Linked DNA regions of Homo sapiens: all the other regions are linked to region 5. The links are contacts of gene promoters, found by promoter capture Hi-C in blood cells and fetal thymus (Javierre and others, 2016). All regions are on one chromosome and are shown on one strand. Each heading gives the region's core, a stretch centred on a gene start or on the middle of the fragment in contact. The rest is flanking DNA. Distances are from core to core; before and after follow the strand shown. Region 1 has its middle 2.4 kb from the start of NCAPG2. Region 2 overlaps RBM33 (RNA binding motif protein 33). Region 3 holds the start of ESYT2 (extended synaptotagmin 2). Region 4 has its middle 8.4 kb from the start of RBM33-DT. Region 5 holds the start of UBE3C (ubiquitin protein ligase E3C). Region 6 overlaps INSIG1-DT (INSIG1 divergent transcript). Region 7 overlaps NCAPG2 (non-SMC condensin II complex subunit G2).

What was found. Contacts are between HindIII fragments. The CHiCAGO score rates a contact against its expected background, and 5 or more counts as called.
Region 1: a fragment that was not itself captured here is called in contact with the fragment with the promoter of UBE3C in region 5 in 8 of 17 cell types (monocytes, neutrophils, M0 macrophages and 5 more); the score reaches 12.8 in monocytes.
Region 2: a contact is called between a fragment that was not itself captured here and the fragment with the promoter of UBE3C in region 5, in 1 of 17 cell types (M1 macrophages). The highest score is 6.2, in M1 macrophages.
Region 3: a contact is called between the fragment with the promoter of ESYT2 here and the fragment with the promoter of UBE3C in region 5, in 4 of 17 cell types (naive B cells, total B cells, monocytes and 1 more). The highest score is 6.4, in naive B cells.
Region 4: a fragment that was not itself captured here is called in contact with the fragment with the promoter of UBE3C in region 5 in 3 of 17 cell types (naive B cells, total CD8 T cells and monocytes); the score reaches 6.2 in naive B cells.
Region 6: a contact is called between a fragment that was not itself captured here and the fragment with the promoter of UBE3C in region 5, in 2 of 17 cell types (naive B cells and total B cells). The highest score is 5.4, in naive B cells.
Region 7: a fragment that was not itself captured here is called in contact with the fragment with the promoter of UBE3C in region 5 in 1 of 17 cell types (monocytes); the score reaches 6.6 in monocytes.

What each region holds. Positions count from the first base shown.
Region 1 is chr7:158,705,829-158,708,528 of GRCh38, forward strand. No RefSeq gene overlaps it. Among named protein-coding and RNA genes, the nearest start is that of NCAPG2, 2.4 kb to the left of the region's middle. The HindIII fragment of the contact is 2,140 bases long and covers 181-2,320 here.
Region 2 is chr7:155,755,544-155,758,243 of GRCh38, forward strand. The region is part of intron 14 of RBM33 (RNA binding motif protein 33); the gene reads left to right. Among named protein-coding and RNA genes, the nearest start is that of SHH, 56 kb to the right of the region's middle. RefSeq lists an enhancer at 1-551. The HindIII fragment of the contact is 1,944 bases long and covers 322-2,265 here.
Region 3 is chr7:158,828,194-158,830,893 of GRCh38, forward strand. ESYT2 (extended synaptotagmin 2) reads right to left here and starts at 1,316. Exons shown (of 23, transcript NM_001367773.1): 1 at 896-1,316. The coding sequence starts at 1,225. RefSeq lists enhancers at 90-159, 2,170-2,279 and silencers at 280-479, 560-609, 700-889, 940-1,039, 1,130-1,859. The HindIII fragment of the contact is 12,010 bases long and covers 1-2,700 here.
Region 4 is chr7:155,634,640-155,637,339 of GRCh38, forward strand. No RefSeq gene overlaps it. Among named protein-coding and RNA genes, the nearest start is that of RBM33-DT, 8.4 kb to the right of the region's middle. The HindIII fragment of the contact is 7,915 bases long and covers 1-2,700 here.
Region 5 is chr7:157,137,676-157,140,375 of GRCh38, forward strand. UBE3C (ubiquitin protein ligase E3C) reads left to right here and starts at 1,251. Exons shown (of 23, transcript NM_014671.3): 1 at 1,251-1,663. The coding sequence starts at 1,598. RefSeq lists silencers at 743-1,092, 1,373-1,762, 1,813-1,882. The HindIII fragment of the contact is 7,086 bases long and covers 1-2,700 here.
Region 6 is chr7:155,290,644-155,293,343 of GRCh38, forward strand. All of the region lies in intron 1 of INSIG1-DT (INSIG1 divergent transcript), which reads right to left. Among named protein-coding and RNA genes, the nearest start is that of INSIG1, 5.9 kb to the right of the region's middle. RefSeq lists a cis regulatory region at 312-911. The HindIII fragment of the contact is 8,705 bases long and covers 1-2,700 here.
Region 7 is chr7:158,689,100-158,691,799 of GRCh38, forward strand. NCAPG2 (non-SMC condensin II complex subunit G2) reads right to left here. Exons shown (of 28, transcript NM_017760.7): 5 at 1,469-1,623; 6 at 720-854. Among named protein-coding and RNA genes, the nearest start is that of NCAPG2, 14 kb to the right of the region's middle. The HindIII fragment of the contact is 904 bases long and covers 816-1,719 here.

The DNA.
Region 1 (2,700 bases), core at 1-2,500, 1.6 Mb after region 5:
CACAAGTGCACTTGTAAATTTCTAGTGACCACATTAGAAAAATGAAGATAAATAGGTGACATTAATTTTTAAATATGTTTTATTTAGCCTAGTATATCAAAAATATTTATGTTACTTGTTGGAATATCGTTTCAACAAGCAATATAAAATTATAGCAGGGAGAAGACTGGTTTACTAGGAAGCTTGCAACAGTGAAGCAAGGCAGGCTGCAGAGGGGAGGGAGAAGACCCACTCAGAGGATGCTGAGTCTGGGACCCTTGTCAACAGGTGGCCGATATCTAACATTGCCTATTTCATCCTGGGGCTCCAGCCACCTCTGACCTCCTCCTCCCTCCATACACAGATCCTTCCCTGCCATTTCTTGAATTTTGGTGCCCTCATCTTCTCACTGCTTTCTTCTTAGCAATTTCCTTCATATCCAAGGTGCAAACTGCCACCTTCAAGCAGTGACCTCTGCATCTGGATTTGCAAGACACGGTTATTTCTGAACTCCAGAATTTTCAACAGCTCACTGCCTACTCCCACGCTGGTGCTGACATGCATCCAAAACAGATATCGACTTCCCCTCCCACCCCTGAATCCTGCCCCTTTCCTTATGCTGGTCCCTCCTCCAATCAGCCATCTGTTCCTGGGGTTTCCACTTCCTGAGTAGGAATAATGTAACAAGTTACGCATGTGAGCTCTGAAGCTGTACCACCTGGGCTAACCTGGTTCTGTGCTCACTAGCTGGTGACCTTTGACAAGCCATGGACGACTGAGCCTCAGTTTCCTCATCTATCAAATGGGACCTACTTAAGTACTGAGCCTCCTCTAGGGGGTTGTTATGAGGCCTAAATGTCTGTATAATGCAGAGCTCAGCCTCCTCTAGGGGGTTGTTATGAGGCCTAAATGTCTATGTAGTGCAGTGCTCAGAGGCACGTGGAAGCAGGGCAGCAGGAGCGCCCAGTGCACCCCCAATGCACCTGCCCATGCAGCCACTAATGTCATAGGATCCTTTGGGTATCGCTTCACCAGCTAGAAACCTCCGTGGCCAGCGGTGCCTCTGCTAGAGTTTTGCTCGAGCCCACTCAGCCCAGCAGGTTGCACTCGGCTTGCACTACCAACCCAGATCCCACGCCTGCCAAGGGTGAGCCAGGTGCAGAGCGGCAAGGGGTATGTGAGCAAGCGAGCATGGGGTCCAACCACTGCGCACACCCAGCCATGCAGCTGCTGTGGTGGAGCAGGCAGCTCTAGGTGCCTGCACAGCTGCCGGCTCCATGCAAGGCTGTGGCTGGACCAGAGGTACCACAAGTGGCTTCCACTGCAGGCATCAGCATCTGGACAAGGGGAACATGGTGGCACCCGAAAGCTCACAGATGCCAGGAGCCACAGAGCCCCAAAGGGGGGTTACACTGTGTCACAGCCCTGGCTCGGGGAGCCCCGAGGTCTGGGCTCCCAGAAGGGCCACAGCTCTTCTGTCCTTCTCATCACCCACAGCGTGGCTAGCAGGGGGTCGTGTTTCCGGGGCGGCATGTTTCACCTCATTTGTGTTACAGGTCTTTTGGTCCTGCCGCCCCACACCGGTCCACGGCTCCTTGGCTGTCCCGGCCCCACCGCTGCTTCCCACTGCATGGGGTGGCCACTGGGCGCCAGCAGAGGGTGGGAGGGCTATAGCATTATAGCTCTGGCTTGGGGAATCCCAAGGCCTGGGCCTCTACAAGGGTCACCACTCTTCACTCCCTCAGTCTGGGAGCGTGTCACCACCCGCAGCTCAGCGACCCGGCCAGGAACCCGTTACAGCCACTTTGGCTCCCACCTGCAACTTGGCAAGCTGGCCAGGAAAGTATTACAGCTCGTTTTGCTCTCACCATTCAGCAGGTTCCAAGTTCTTGTCCCATGTCCAGGAAGAATGAGGTTTGGCAGACATCTGGAGGGTGAGCAAGGCAGAGAACAGCTGACCAAATAGCTCTCAGTGGAGAGGAGACTCGAAGTGGGTAGCTCCTATCCACAGGCACGTATGGGCTCAGAATGGAGGAAGTACATGTTGATTGGTCCATAGACAGGAGGAAGTGTGTGCTGATTGGCCCATGGGCAGGCCTGGAAAAAGCACTACTTGATTGGCTGAAAGGCATCAAGTAAGTTCTCTTTCTGGATCTCGGACTTCACCAGGAACTGGCATCCTGGCCCAGGAACTTCAGGCTGTCCCTGGCTTGAAAGTGGGGTTTCACCAGGGACCTGCCCCTTCCCACCCAGGAACCTGTCTGCCTCCCGCTGCCATCACCGTTCACTGGGAATGTGACCTTCCCCGCAAATAGATGACACTCCTCCAGAACTCAGCTCAAGCTTTACCTTCTATAGGGGTTTATTTCCTGAACCCCATAACCCTCACTGTAATGCAATCTCTTAGCCCCCTACCACAGGCCTCATCATCTCCTCCATGTCAAGCACTGTGTCATCCTTAGTCCTATATCCGTGGCGTAAGGCCTGGCACATTTTAGATGCTTGAAGAAAATATTTTCTGAATAAATGAATGAATGAGGCATGAGATCATCTGTGTTCTTAAAATCTTACAATGTGGTAAATTAGAAAAGGTTTATAGAATTAAAGGTGGACCACATGGCAAGGCAATATAAAACTAAGTTTCAAAGGGTATAAAACTTGGCAAAAATATCTTTGATAAAAATATAATATCTTTTTTTTTTTTTTGAGACATAGTCTCGC
Region 2 (2,700 bases), core at 44-2,543, 1.4 Mb before region 5:
TTGGGGAATTTGTCAAGTGTTGTCACTCTAGAATAATGCTGCTTAGCGTCTGATAGGTATAATCAAGAGTTGAGATTTCTATAGAGGGGGTTAATCAATTTGCTTGCTAGTGAATGCAAGTCAGTGATAGCACTTCTTCATGGGGTTTAAGAGTGAAAATAAGATTTGATCTGTCAAATTGCAGGAAGCCCTGACAATATCAGTAGGTGTTTTTATCTATGCATTTAAACGATTTGTTATAAATAAATTTGTCCTGCTAATGTTGGGGGCTACAGACCTCTTTTTTTTTGTAATGATTAAGCTGATAAAAAGTATTCCCTAAGCTTACTTAATTCAAATAGTGCCTTTTATAAATATACAAAAAAAACTAGTCTAAAAAGCGATTTTTATAGCATTAAAAGATAATCATTTGTGGGAAAAAAATGTTTCTGGTTTGACCAGAGATGACAAAACTTCTTTTCTCTCTCATGTGCTTTGGAGGAAGTAGAAGATATTTAAAATGCTGTCTGAACCTAGTGTTGTTTGAAGAGTTAAAAAGCGAACACCACCCTGGGAAAATTCAGTTTCAAAGCAAACATACTTTTTATGAATAGAATGTATAGTCTGTCACCCACATACAACACTTATATGTGGATGTTAAGATAACAGCCTTCTAAAATTCAATTTGAATCAACAGTATTTTAAAATTTACTTAACTAAGTACTAGTAATTTTAGGATCTCTTTCAATGCTGTAATTATATGCATAACTATAACCTTATAGAAGACTTATAAATAAATGGGTAGATTTAATTTGGCTTGGTTCTTATTCAAATCTTGTCTGTATGTGTGAGTATAGGTATAAAAATATGTAATCAATTTGTTTCTCAGATGTAATCAGTTGAAGAATTTGTTCCTGGATATTTGTACTACAACATACTAAAATCAAAAGTCAAAATCAGGAAGTTGTTTTGGTATATGCAGTAAAAGGGAATTGAAAGCGTTGTTTCCACATTGATCCTGCCATATAAATTGGGCCAAGTGTGAGTCTAGCGCGTTGCAGTTCACTCCTCTCGTGGTGCACTCTGCTTGCTATTTGTTCTGAGAGATGACATGAAATGGTAGCTGGGATCGTGATGTTTAATCTGAGCACGTTGGAAACCCAGGAGAGGCCGAATGTCACTGTGTGCCGCCCGTGAGTTGGAGTGAATGGTAAAACCCCAGGCGAAAGCACAAGTTGCAAAGTAGGCAGCAAAATTTGGGCAGAAACGTCACCAGCAGTTTCCAGATAGCCGGGTAGCTTGGTGGTGGGTAGCATCTGTGGTATCTGGGTAGTATCAAAACCCATATTTTCCTTTCCCCAGCATGGCTGTTGTAATACCTGATTTTGTGGCTAAAATAGGACTTGTCAGTTTACAAGTAATGATTAGGACCACCAAGCTGTATTAGATGCCATTCAGAGTAACGCTTGCCTACTTCTTGACAGAGATTGTAGTGTCAACCACAGTATGGGCTGAAGTGTACCTTGAAATAAACGTCTGTCCATTGGGAAAGGTGAAATGAAAATTTTCTCAAAAACAAAACCACTAATAAAGTAAAATTTGAATGTGATCAACAGAATCCAAAGGGACAAGTTGAATCGAAGAGTCAATGGGAGAATTTGACCCATGGGTAGAAGTTGTTCACCTGATCCAAACTACGCTCCTGGCCACAACCTAGGAATGTGTATGCTAGTTCACATTCTAGTGTGAACTGGAGTAAAACCCGGGAACTTGAAACTGTTCTGTAGAATTAGCTTTTCCTCATGCTAAGTCAAAAGGGAATAATTGTTCTTTTAATTAGAAAAAAAAATTCATTTTTTTCTTACAAAATGAAACAACCTTTTACTTATGTTCAAGCCTTCATTGCTTAGCATGATCTTCAGAAAAATTCAGAAGCACAGCATTATAGTAGCCCTTCATTTAAAGTGATTTAATTGTTGATCCCGTTTGTTTCAACTCTGTCTGAAAATAGTTTCAAAATATGTTAGTGTAAACTCCTCCCCTGGTTTTGGAGCCACAAAGATGTTCCAGCGCTTATTGTGTGACTGAAGTTTGTTTAATGGGCACAATGAGGATACTACTACTTACCTCTTAGGGAGGTGTATTAGGCAGTTCTTGCACTGCTATAAAGAAATACCTGAGACTGGATAATTTATGAAGAGAAGAGGTTTAATTGGCCCAGGGTTCTGCAGGCTTTACAGGAAGCATGGTGCCGGCATCTACTTGGCTTCTAGGGAGGCCTCAGGAAGCTTCCAATCATGGTGGAATGCAGAGTGGGGAGCAGGCGCATTTCATGGCAAAAGCAGGAGCATGGTGGTGTGGGGTGGGGGGCGGGGCATGTGCCATGCACTCTGAATGGCCAGATCTTTTGTGAACTCAGAGCTTGCTTATCACCAAGGGGATGGCCTAAGCCATTCACAGTCATCCGCCCCATGATCCAAACACCTCCCACTAAGCCCCACCTCCAGCACTGGGGATACATTTCAACAGAAGATTTGGGGAGGGACAAAATACCAAAACTCCATCAGGAGGACTGAAGGAAAACAATGTCTGTACGGACCCTAGTACCTTTCTTGTCCTGTTGTAGACATTCAACAGATATGAGCTATGGATTATTTCACTGCCAGTACTAAGTGAATATATTGAATAATACCAAAACTCTTGATGATTAAGATCCCAGGA
Region 3 (2,700 bases), core at 66-2,565, 1.7 Mb after region 5:
GCGTCAGAAACAACCAAGACACGAGTGCGTCTTCTCCCGGTAGAAGAAAAAGTTAACTTCTCCCCCACCAGCTGTCATTACGTTTTTTAAAAAACAGAGAGAAGGAAAAGCTGAAGCCACCCGGAGCATTTCCAGGCCGGCAGGGCTTTGGGAATGCGCACGAGAATCGCGCTGGGCGCTCTGAGAGCAGAACCGGCCGCTCAGGCCCCTAAGGAGACCCCGCGGGCGGCACCAGGAGGAAGCGCGCGCTCCGGGCAGGGCCGCGGCCGAAGAGGGGGCGCCAAGCCCGGTACCTGCCGCTGGCGCTCGGGGTCTGCAGGCCGGGGGAGGGAAGCGGGCTTTGTGAAGAGGGGTCTCCGAGAAAGCCGCGCGGGACGGCGAGGGGAGGCTTCACGAGGGCAGACGCGCCCCGGACCCGGAGCCTGGGCGGGCGGGGAAGCGGAGAAGGGGACGCCCGACTTGGACGGAGGGAGGGCACGGAGCACTCAGGACTAGGGCGGGAGCGGCGAGCAGCGGGCGGCGGCCCCAGGCGGACAGGTTCGCAGGGAGTGGGCCGGAGGCCGGGGCGGGGCTGGGGTCTGCACTCGCCCTAGCGGGCAGGTCGCCAGCAGGCTGGGAGTCGGGGCCGGGGGGCGGGGCGGGGTCTGCACTCACCTAGGTTGGCAGGTCGCAGGAACCGGCCCGGGGGCCGGGGCTGGGGTCTGCACTCGCCCAGGCGGAAGGGAAGCGCCTGCCTGGACCGGGGTGGGTGGGGGACTACGAAGGCGGGAGCCGGGGCAGGGCTGGGGTCTGCACTCACCCAGGCGGCAGGTCGCGGGGAGGGGAGTGCCTGCCTGGACGAGGGGAGATCGGGACTGGTGGTCAGGGGTCGGGACGGGCAGGGGTCTGCACTCACCCAGGCGGGCAGGTCGCAGGCGCGCACCCCCAGGCGCACGACGCGCTCCTCGTCTTCCAGCAGCGCCAGCGCGCGGCACAGGCGCAGGGCCTTGAGGCCGCGGCTGCGGCGACACCAGGCGAGCAGCGCGAGCGCGAGGAGAACCCAGCTGAAGCTGAGCCCCAGGTAGCCCAGCGCGTACACGGGCAGCAGCAGCGCGAAGCTCCGCGCCAGCTGCGCCAGCAGCCCGGGCAGCTCCACGCTCAGCACGCCCCCGGGGTTCTCAGGCGCCGCGCGGCCCCCAGCCCCGCCGGCGCCCGCCTCCGGGCCCTCGCCCCGGGCGCCGCTCATCGCCCCGCAGTGCCGCGCTGCCCTCCCGGCCGAGGCGGGCTGGGTGCTCGCGCTGATCCCGGGCGGCTCAGCCCCGCGCCAGCGCCCCTCTGAGGGGACGCGGCTCCGCCGCACGCCCGCCTCCGCCCGGGACGGTGGCGTCATCACGCGGGGCGGGAGCGGCGTGGGCCTGGGGCTGGCACGTCACCGGGAGCGGGCGGGGTGGATACTGACGTCATCGCGCGGGGCGGGCCGTGGGCCGGGTCGGAGACTACTGGAGTGGGCCGGGCAGGCGCACGACGTCATCACGCGAGCGTTGTGTCTCGGCTGGCGGGAGCCGGGGACGGGAAAGGAGAGTGCTCGGTGCGTGGGCTGGGCGTGCCTGCGTCCCCTCGAGCCCCACGGGGCACCCTCCCCACTTGCCTGTGGCCTCGGAGCCCGCGGGCGGTTTTGGCTCGGCGTCGCGCCCCGAGGCGGCTTCCGGGTGCGTGGCTGCGCTCGCCGAGGCCCGGGAAGTTGCCGTCGTCAAACCCAAAGGCTGACCGCCTCTGGGAGCTGCTGGCAAACGTGGGGGTGCGCGGCCGCTGAGCGCAGCCGGGGTGGCGGTGGGATGAGAGGGCGGCGTCCCTGTTTGCGGTCATTTTGCGGCCAGGAGGACGGGTGAGAGGGCGCCGCCCGCCGGAGGTCGGACGGGCGCCGCTGGCGGGAGTCCTCCGGTATTTTTCGGTGTGAGGTTGCCTAGCCAGTGTGCAAGGTTGTGGCTTTTGCGGAGTCTCTCGGGACGGTCTTGTTATCGGGCATTCCGGCGTGAGAACGCTGCCTCTGGGGCCCTTCCCACCCTGCTTGTCAGGGTTTTAAACACAAACGACTCCGTTGTGACCTTGACAACTCTCACACAGTTCAGTTGGCTTTTAAGATGCCTTTAATCCCAAAAGTCCTCCCTGAGGGGTCTGGTAGTGCCGGGCAAAGACCACCGCAAGCGCCCAAGGGACGCTGTTGACACTCGGGAACTCCACCCCGGGCACCACGCAGCTTCGCCGAAGGTGTTAATATTGTGGCCAACTATGAATAGCTGTTTCAAACGACTAATTTTGGGCCTTTCCTGTGATTCCTGAGGTCACTTTTCAGTTAACTCAAAAACACAACTATTGATCACTTTACTTTCCAGTGAATTCAATCGAGTTAATTATATTTGTTCTGTAGTTTCTTTCAAGGAAACTCCAAGCCAAACAGTAGCAAAGAACATCCTACTTGACTGTTTTTGAGCATATTCAGTGAATTCCAAGGAAATTTTTACTGAATTTGTAACAGAGTAGGGCACTGGCAGGTACTGAATGAATAAACAAATGCCCAGAAGAAGCAGGGTCACCTTTACATAGGAATCTGTCTCCCCTCGTTCCTGCGTCTTCATAATTTTGTGTGCATATGTATGTGGAGATTATATCACATATGTAAAACATTGCAGAGTCTAAACTCTCAACTCCAGGCAAGGGCAG
Region 4 (2,700 bases), core at 162-2,661, 1.5 Mb before region 5:
CTGCGCCTGGCCATGTACCACATTTTCAAAAATCCATTCATCCATTGATGGATGCTTAGGTTACTTTCATATCTTGGCTACAGTATATACAGCCGTATAATGTTGCGATGGACATGGGAGTGCAGACACTTCTTTGGCTAGTGATTTCATTTCCTTTGGCATATACCCAGTAGGGGGATTGCTGGATCATCATGGCTGTACTAATTCACATACCCACCAAGTGTAAAAAGGTTCCCTTTTCTCCATGTCCTCTCCAACACTTGTTATCTTTCATCTGTTTGATAACAGCTATTCTAATGGGTTACATGGAAGACAATGTTTCTTTTGATTAGTGTTTGCATGGCATATCTTTCCTTGCACTTAGCCTATCTACATCTTTAAAGTGTGTTTCTAGAGATGGAGTCTCACTCTGTCGCCCAGGATGGAGTGCAGTGGCACCATCTCAGCTCACTGAAACTTCCACCTCCCGGGTTCAAGAGATTCTCTGGCCTCAGCCTCCCGAGTAGCTGGGATTACAGGTGCCTGCCACCACGCCCGGCTAATTTTTTTTTTTCATATTTTTAGTAGAGATGGGGTTTCACCATGTTGGATAAGCTGGCCTTGAACTCCTGACCTCCAGTGATCCGCCTGCTTCAGCCTCCCACAGTAATAGAGAACCTATATTTCATTCTTACATCTTAATGCAATCTGACACTTTTTTGGTGTTAGGACTGTTGTGTGTGTATGGATCATTCACATTCAATAGAAATTGAGTTGATATGGTTGGATTCCAACCTACCATCTTGTTAGCTGTTTTTTATTTAATTTGTTATTTCTTTTTTTCTTGGATTAAGTTAGTTTTTAAAAATGATTTCCTTTTATCTTTCCTAAACATATATATATAAACACACATATATATATAAAAGTGTGTGTGTGTGTATATATATATATATATATATATATACACACACACTTTTCTTTAAAAAATTTTTTGGTGGTCACCTTAGGGTTTACAATTTATATTTTTAATTACTATGCATCTATTTTCAAATATTATACTGTACTTCTTCACGTGTAGTATAAGAACCTTATAGCAACATATGACCACTTCCTCCCTTTCATCCTTTGTATTATTGTCATGCATTTCACTTGTTCATATGCTCTAAGCACACAATACATTTTCCCTATTTTTACTCCAATCAATCTTTCAGAGCATTAAAAACAGGGAGAAAAATGTTACCGTCATATATGCAATTTCAACCACACTCATCATCAACCGTGTTCATCATTTCTTTGTGTTGAACCAGATTTCTGATTGTTATCATAGTCCTTGTGCCTAAAAAACTTCTTTTAACATTTCCTGTAGAGCTTGTCTGCTCGCAATGAATTCCCTCCATTTTTGCTCCTTAGGTATTTCTGCTGGGTAACTGTTTCTGACAACAGGTTTTTCCATCAGTACATAAAAGATTGGTCATGCCACTGTCTTCTGGCTTGTATGCTTTTTGATGAGATAGCTGCTATAATTCTTATTGTTCTTTTCCTCTCTAGGAAAAGAGAAAATGTTTCTTTTTCAGCAATTAGAACATGATATATTTGGATATGGGGGCTTTTGCTTGTTTGCTTGTGTCTTGGTATTTATCTCGCTTGGTGTTATCTGAGCTTCTTGGGTCTATGTTTTGGTGCCTGTCATAAATCTTGAAAAAATTAGTTCTTCAGACATTTGTTCCACTCCTTTCTCTCTTCTTCTTCCAACTATACATATGTTAGACCATTCAATGTTGTTGAACAGTTCATAGATACTCTGCTCTGTTTCTTGCACTCCTTCTTCTCTTTGCTTCAGTTTGGATAATTTTTATTTATATTTCTTCAAGGTAACTTATTCTTTCCATGTCAAGTGTATCAATGAACCCATTGAAGGCATTCTTCACCTCTATCATTGTGCTTTTGATTTCTATCATTTCCATTTCTAGCATTTCCTTTTGGTACACTGAATTTTTGTTTGAAACCTCGTTTTTTTTTTAGTGATAGTGTATACTATGGTAAATATTTTCTATGATTGGAGATGAGCACATCTTGCTGTCTAGTAGGTTGTTAGTATGAGTTTGCTATCTTATTCAGGAGTTGGGCTTAGTGAGATATTTGTTGTTGCCACAGCTATCCTCTGTGCACAAAAGGCTCCAAATTCCTCCGGCAACACCTTGTACTTAGAACATGGGCTCATTTGTGAGATTGTTTTCTCAGTGTCTGCGCTTCCTCTGGGCTTTGGGTCTTCTCTTTGCGCTGTAGTCCTGAAAGAAGCAGTCTCTTGTGGGCCTCCCAACTGTATTTTGTCGTTTTTACTTGACATCTATTATTCTGGTGACAGGAGATAGGAGAGGATCAGAATCCTCTGATGTTCTGTTTAAGCATCCTCTTACACAGGGAGTGTCTGGGTCTCAGGGATGTGGACTTCAAAATACTTCTCCCACCAGCTGCAGTGTTGGGCTCGGCAGGTATCCCTGATCCTCTCCTAGGGTAGAGCTTTTTATTTTTCTGTCCCCTTTGCACAATGGAAATGGGCTTCCCCATTGCCCTAAGGCCACGGTTTTTGTGGCCTTTCTCCCTGAAGGCCTTTTTCCATAAGTGAGATAAGAGAGGTGTGTACCAATGGAGTTTCTCGAGTGGACACTGTTCCCTCCCTCAAACAACATAATGAGGAACTTTCTCAGGATTCTCCCACCT
Region 5 (2,700 bases), core at 1-2,500:
TGCCTTAGCCTCCAGAGTAGCTTGGACTACAGGCGTGCACCACCACACCGGCCTAAGTTTTGTATTTTATTAGAGATGGGGTTTCACCATGTTGGCCAGGCTGGTCTCGAACTTTTCACTTCAGGTGATCCGCCCGCCTTGGCCTCCCAGAGTGCTGGGATTACCGGCGTGAGCGACCGTGCTCGGCCGCAGGACGACTGTAGATGATATCGTATTGTGTGTTGAAATTTTGCTAAGAGAGTAGATTTTATGTACTCTTACCACACACACACAAAGAGGGTAGTCATTTCACAATGTCTCTATGAAATCATCATGTTGCACACCTTGTATACAACCAAAAATCAATTTTTAGAAATTGGTTTCAATCGTGTATGATATATATGTATATGCACATGTATATGAGATATTATGTATACGTATGTGTGGATATAAGACACATGTTTATGTATAGGTGGTCCCCAACTTAAAATGGCTCAACTTACAATTTTTTGACTTTGTGATGGGTTTATTGTAGCATTAAATACATTTTCAACTTACAATATTTTCATCTTACGATGGGTTTATCAGGACAAAGCCCCATGGTAAGTCCAGGAGCAAATATTTTTGCATACACAGGTATGTGTACATGATACATATTTATATGTATTGATGCTGTATCTATAGATGCATATGTGTGCTATGTATGAGGCAAATCTGCGCATGTCTGTGTACATGGTAAATATTTACGTCCGTCTGTGCGTGTCATAGACATAGAACAGGTGGGATGTAAACAGACGGGCTGGGCCTAGCTGCTCCTTTCCCGCCTCACTCGAGTCTGGCACCAGATTGGCCGCTCCCAGCCCGCTCCGGGTGCCGGCCCCTGCACCCCACCCTGCACCCCGCACCCTGCCCTGCACCCCATCCCGGCCCGTGCCTCGCACTCCACCTTTCCCGCACCCTGCCCCGCACCCAACACCTCCCGCGCCCCTCGCCGCGCTCCCCCAGCACGCACCAGGCCCCGCCCACTCCGCCGCGTGCCCAGCCCGCGTCACCGCCGTCCTCCCCAGGCTCCAGCGCGCCTTGCGGGGCCGCGCACGCTAGCGGAACCGCCGGGAAGAGCGCCGTGCCGTCAATGGCGGAGGCGCGCACGTCTGCAGGGCCGCGCACGTCTGCAGGGCCGCGCACGTCTGCAGGGCCGCGCACGTCTGCAGGGCCGCGCACGTCTGCAGGGCCGCGCACGTCTGCAGGGCCGCGCACGTCTGCAGGGCCGCGCACGCACTGACGGCTGACCGCCATCTTCCCTCCCGAGGCGGCAGTTCCAGGTGCAAGCGCCGGGTTTGCTGCCCGCTGGGCGCCCCTGCAGCGGCCCGAGCTGTGGCCGGCGTGGATGAGGGGCAGGCGAGGCAGGGCCGCCCCTCCAGTATTGCCGCCCCTCCCGCCCCAGGGCAGGGCTGGGAGGGTACAGCCCGGGGGCGGGCTCGGGTCGCCTCCCGGCCGCCGCGTCCTCGCTGCCCCGGGCCGGGCGGGCGGGCGCCGAGAGCCTCCCAGCCCGCCCCGTGCCCCGCCCGCCCGGCTGCTTCCGCGGCGGCGCTGCCCGCACATGGGCTAGGCTGCCAGGATGTTCAGCTTCGAAGGCGACTTCAAGACGCGGCCCAAGGTGTCCCTTGGCGGCGCGAGCAGGAAGGTGAGGGCCGGGCTGGCGGGGCGCCCTCGGCTCGGGGCCTGCGCGGCCGGGGCTCGGGGCTGGGACTCGGGGCTGGACTCGGGGCTGGACTCGGGGCCGAGACTTGGGGCTGGATTCGGGGCCTCCCTGGCGGGGACTCGGGGCTTCCTCGCCGGATCTCGGGGCCGCTCCGGCCGGGACTCGGGGTTGGACTCGGAGCCGAGACTTGGGGCCAGGACTCTGGCTGGGGCTTAGGACTGGACTCGGGGCCTCCCTGGCTGGAACTCGAGGCCGCGCCCGTGGGGGCCTTGCCTGTCCACTGCGCTTCGGGACCCGGGCGCGCTGGCCGTGGCTCCCTTCCATGCAGGAGGCCGGTGAACCCTGGCACGCTTTGTGCCACCCAAGGTGAACTTACCCTTTCTGGGTGTTTCCTTTCAGAAATGCGCTTTCCATGCTCGCTCCCGCATGGCATCAGGGAGTGGCTGCTTTTCGAATGCCACCTGAAGGGCGTTTTCGGTTGTAGAAGGTGAACGGCACGCATTTGCTGATGTCGATAATCTCTAAAGTAGAGGCAGAACGTCTCATGAATAGCCACGTGTTTGAATCCAAGACGAGGGCAATTATTTGCCACCAGCCTCCTGGAAACTGTGGAGAGACTCCGGACTTACATCTGTTGTGATCGACATTAAGTTGTTCGCATGGTAATTGTTTAGGATAAGGGTAGGCAAACCATGACGCCTCTGTTCTAGTCTAGAATTTCTAGCTGTCTGTCCCTGAAGACGGGCATCAGTTGGTTCACTGGAACCGCTAAGTCGTTGAACACTGTGTGGTCTTGTTCCCGCCCCTCCCTTCCCACCCCTTCCCATCATTTCTGAAATGTTCTTTAAAATGCTTCACCTAGTTTTTCTTGTCTATCAGTATATTCTGTATATCACAACCACCAGGTAGGCACATAACGCAGAGTGGGTGCTGGCAGGCCAAGGAGGAACTGCTGTTATTAAGATTGTGCTGTGGGGCTGTGTTTGGTGGTTTCTGAGGTTAGAAGGGAACCTGGGTAA
Region 6 (2,700 bases), core at 70-2,569, 1.8 Mb before region 5:
TAGCCACCGACCGTGGGGCCAAGGCCTGACATGACCACACAGGTGGCAAGCCCCTGGCCCCTCCGCCCCTCACTCCTTCCTGCTCCATGCTCCACATCCCTCCCAGTCCCGGAGGACAGAAGGCTGAAAGCAAGGTGTTTCCAGGCCCTGCTCCCTGTGAGAGCCCTACGGGACAATCCTTCCTTACTCCTTCCGGCCTCTGGTGGCTCCCAGCAAACCATGGCGCATGTCCGCCTCCGTCCTCACACGGCTTCTCCTGCATGTCTGTCTCTGGGTCTCACCTCCTCTTCTTAGGAGGAAACAGTCATGTTGGATTTGGGCCCACCCTACTCCAGTGGGAACTCATCTTAACTCATTACATCTCCAAAGACTCGATTTCCAAATAAGGTCACATTCTGAGGTTCCCAGAAGGACATGAATTTGGGGGCACACCATCCCACCCAGTGCACCCCCTCTGCCACTGCTATCTGCTGCCTTCACTCCCCAGGGACTCAGACACCTGACACACAGTCTGTCTCCATATCCCAAACCTGTCATTGTGCTGAGGACTTCGTCCCACTCAAGCATGACTCATCCAAGGCCTCGCCTCTGGGTTCCCTGACCTCCTTGGCCCTGGTGACTCACTCCACACCACTCCAGCCACCCAATCCCAGGCTCATCGTGGGGACTGCCACCCTCTGCAGTGGCTCTCCCCTGACGCCATGTGCCCACACAGCCTCCTCCTGCCCAGGCTCTCGCCTTCAGATCACCCATCCAGTAATGAATCTGTGGGAGCTTGGGTTGCATTAATCAATGAATATTGCTACCCTTGTAGGGCCAATACCCAGTGTTCACATAGGGCAAGCCTCTACACACTGACCCTTCCCTCTGTGGGGCCCTCTTCCTCCCGGCATACTCCTTTCACCTCCATTTCACCTGACCCAGGTTCCATGACGCCACCAGCCGCCTGCCGCTAACCTGCCCTCCACTGCTCCATTGCCCCTCCTTGGCACCACCAGGAAAAAACCAATTCTAGAGGCCCCTCGAATGCTCTGCCATTGCTACCCAGCCTGGAGTGTCGTAGAGAAGAACTCCCACGCCACCCTGCAGATTGGGCCCTGTGAAGTCGCCATCACAAACCTCCACCAGGCACTCCACACCAAAGGGTTTACACTCCCAGTTTCCAATCGCTCCTGTCTCCCTCTTAACTCAGGAGCTCTCCTCCTTCTTCAGAAATGACAGAAACTTCCTGAGGGGAAGGCGACCCCACCACACCGCCCCCATCTCTCCCACCTACTTCCTCAGTAGAGGGTGTGCCTGCCCAGGAATCCCCACTAGGATTGGTCCTAGACACCAATCTCCTCCTCTAATCTTCTCCTCAGGGACCTCACTCTCCACTGCCTGCTCTCACTCCCTCTTCTTCAGTCTTTCTTTATTTTATTATTATTATTTTTGAGACAGAGTCTCACTCTTGTCACCCACGCTGGAGGGCAATGGAGCAATCTCGGCTCACTGCAACCTCCACCTCCTGGGTTCAAGCGATTCTCCTGCCTCAGCCTCCCGAGTAGCTGGGATTACAGGCATGTGCCACCACGCCTGGCTAATTTTTGTATTTTTAATACAGACGGGGTTTCACCATGTTGGTCAGGCTGGTCTCGAACTCCTGACTTCGTGATCCACCTGCCTCAGCTTCCCAAAGTGCTGGGATTACAGGCGTGAGACACCACGCCCTGCCCTTCTTCTTCAATCTTTCTACTGGGTCCATCAGCGTTTATATTTGTTCACGTCTCTCATTTTTTAAAACAAAACAGGCTGGGCGCCGTGGCTCATGCCTGTAATCCCAACACTTTGGGCGGGCAGATCACCTGAGGTCAGGGGTTCAAGACCAGCCTGGCCAACATGGTGAAACCCTGTCTCTACAAAAATACAAAACTTAACCGGGTGTGGTGGCAGGTGCCTGTAATCCTGAGTGGGAGGCTAAGGAGGGAGAATCCCTTGAACCAGGGAGGTGGAGGTTGCATGAGCTGAGATCGAGCCACTGCACTCCAGCCTGGCTGACAGAGCAAGACTCTGTCTCAAAATAAACAAACAAACAGACAGACAAACTAAACTCTTTCCCCATCACTCTCTCCTCCAGCTTCCATCATCTCTCCCCTCCTTCTCACAGCCAGACCCCTTCCAGAGGGATCTTCACTGGCAGCCTCATTTTCCTTGTCTCCTTATCTCATGGAAGCGCAGCTTCCCCCGTGACTCAGGCCACTCACACCGAGCTTCCTGCTGACCACATCACAGGACCCCCAGACATGATTGGTCTCTGTCTTGCATGCCATGGCTGCCACTTTCTCCTTTCCAGAACATCCCCCCCCCGGATTTCTTGGTCGCACACTTTCTTCCTATCTTACTGGACCTTCTGCCACTGCCCCTGGCAGCCCCTTTCCTCTGCTCCAGCCTCAGGGCTGTACGAGGCACACTGACTTCTCATCCTACACAGTCTGCCTTGGCCCACCCTCCACTCCAATGCAGAGTCACCATCTGCAGTGGTCTCTGCGATGGATTCACCAACAGCTCTTCACATTGGAGGGTCATCTCTCTGCCAATCATAACTGTTCTACTCCCCTTTCCAGTGATCAATATAGGCATGGACAGTCTGACCAACTTGACTTGCAGAAGCAGCTCTGGGGTCTTCTTACCACTTGGGGCTCTGAGGATGAGTCCACTGTT
Region 7 (2,700 bases), core at 18-2,517, 1.6 Mb after region 5:
TGCGAGCCTCTCTGTAATTCTCAATTCTTTAGTAGTCATGTTAACAAAAGTAAAGAAGATTAATTTTAATAATATATTTTATGTAAAGCAATATTTAATATAACAGACAATAAAAATATTGTCTATTATATTAAGTATAGAACAAAAATTATTAATGAGCTATTTTATGTTCATTTCTTTCCCACTAAATCTTCAAATCCATGTGTATTTTATACTTATGGCTAATCTCAGTTCAGTTGGGTCCCATTTCAGGTGCTCAGTAGCCTCATATGGGAGTTGACCCCAGGACGGGCAGTGCAGCAACAGGCCAGAAGCCTCTCTGGATTTACAGGATGGGTAGAAAAAAGAAAGGGAGGATATTATGGGATGACAGTTTTGAGTACATGGCAATTAAAATGGAATTAGGGCAGAAGGCCAGATCTCATTCATAGAGAAGTGCTTTCTCAACCTTATTTTTAATCATTCTTAATTTAAAATGTAATTACGGTTCCCCTAGGTAACACACAGCCACCTGTTACCATCCAATTTAATGATGAAATAAGCAAGGACTTGTAAAATGTCTTCTCTAGTACTGCCATGCAGTAAAAATCATGTGCAGTAAATAGCTCCTGGTAGCTAAGCAACACCGAGCATGGTGCAGACAGGAACCATGTGAACACAGGAGAAACATCTATTAAGAAGCAGCTCACAAACAGATCAAAAAACAAATACCTATTTACCTCTTCTTTCTTGATATAATTAATATTTATGAAGCACTCAAGTAACATATCTTTAATTTCTCCACTTTCCTCCAAATCATAATCAAAGCAATATAAAGCTTGATGGATACGCCAAAGCCGACATACGTCTGCACCCTAGGAATGACACAAAAAATGTGATACCTTTTTCAATGAACAGTAAAGTCATATTTCAAATCAAGTATATTTTATATCATAAATAATGGTAATTCTAGTTGATTCATCAAAGATTAAAAAATAACGACAAATAAAAACAGATTTTAAAATTTGCAAATGCCCCCTATAGCTCTACAGAACATTTTTTTAAAACATAAGGAAAATAATTAAAAATCCAGCAAGTTTAAGAACTTCCTCGATGATGAAGATTTTATACATCTGAACTGTCTAGTGCAGTAGACATTAGCCACATTTCACTGTAGAGCTACTAAAATGTGACTAATGCAACTGAGGAACTGAATTTTTCATTATTTTTAACTTTAAATTTAAACAGCTTTCTGTGGCAAGTGGCTACTACGTTGAATAGCGCAGGTTTAGAATGTTAGGAAGACGTTTAAAAATAAAGTCCTAGCTAGGTGGTGCACTCCTGAAGTCTCAGCTACTTGAGAGGCTGAGGCAGGAGGATTGCTCGAGCCCAGGAGTTTGAGGCTGCAGTGAGCTATGATCATGCCACTGCACTCCATCTGGGCAATAGAGAGAGACCCTGTCTTTAAAAAAATAAAAAGTGAGCATACTGTCTTAGTCTCCAGACTCCTCCTTAGTAACATGACAAAGGCTGTCTTTCCTGTGTCTTCCTTGGCAGGCAGGCCTTTCTCCCACCAGGTAACACACAAATCCTGAATAGAACTCTGTAGTTTTCGTTCAGACTCAGGTAATGCATATAAAATACCTAAAATACAGCACAGTAATTTTCCAATTAGTAAGGCAAATTCTTATTACTTCAGAGTCAACAGTTTAGAGTATCATGACTTTATATATTATTTAAAGCTTTGCTAAGCAAATAATATTAGTTATGTTTAACTTGCCAAAGATTTATATACATTAGTTATAAAATGCAAATAATGTTAATTAAAAAACTGTTTGACGATTGTTATAAAAAGACCCTCAACAGACATAATAGAAAAGAGATTTTTGGAACTGGAAGTCTCAGAGAAATCGTATCACCAATTTTAGAAAGGCAGATGCTGAGGCTAACCAAACCTCAGTGTAACAACACCAATGGTATCTCTGTTAACACCAGAGCCAAGACAGGTCTACTGACCAATCAATAATCCACTACTATCCCTCAATGTGCCAGCCTCAAATTTTGGCTCAGAGGTGAAAAACAGTCAAAGCAATTACCATAATGAATACAAAAACTGCAGTGCTTTTATTAACAGAAAAGCTCAATAATTAGATTAATGATACTAATGCTCATAATTATAATCTGTAGGTATCTGAATGTCATTACACTAATATAACATTCCTGAATTAACTGGGAAGTTGATAGCAACTACAGTGTTAGCACTAATCATTTCACTAGTTATTTGCAGACCATACAAATAAACTGATAGTAAAATTCACAAAGCATTTGGAAGCTATTTTCATTATGATTGGGGTGACTTTTTAATAAGACACTGTATTTCAACTCAAGAATTCAGAATAAAACAATGTACTATAAAACATACATAAATCCAAGTGATGCTAAGAATAAGAAGCTTGATGAGATACTTTGTCACAACAAACTAATTACACTCGCACAGTGAAGGATGAGGGTATGTGAAAAGTTTTCTTAAAAATCATTAAGATATTTTTACATCTTTTGTAACTAAAATTTTATATATTTCATAATCAAATATTTTCATTAACTTAGACTAAATTAATAACTAGTTTTACAGTTTTGTTAAAACTTGAAAAGTACCATCATTTAAATTTCAATACAGTAAAACTCCCCTAGGAGTCAATAATCACTCCTCAGATCACGTTC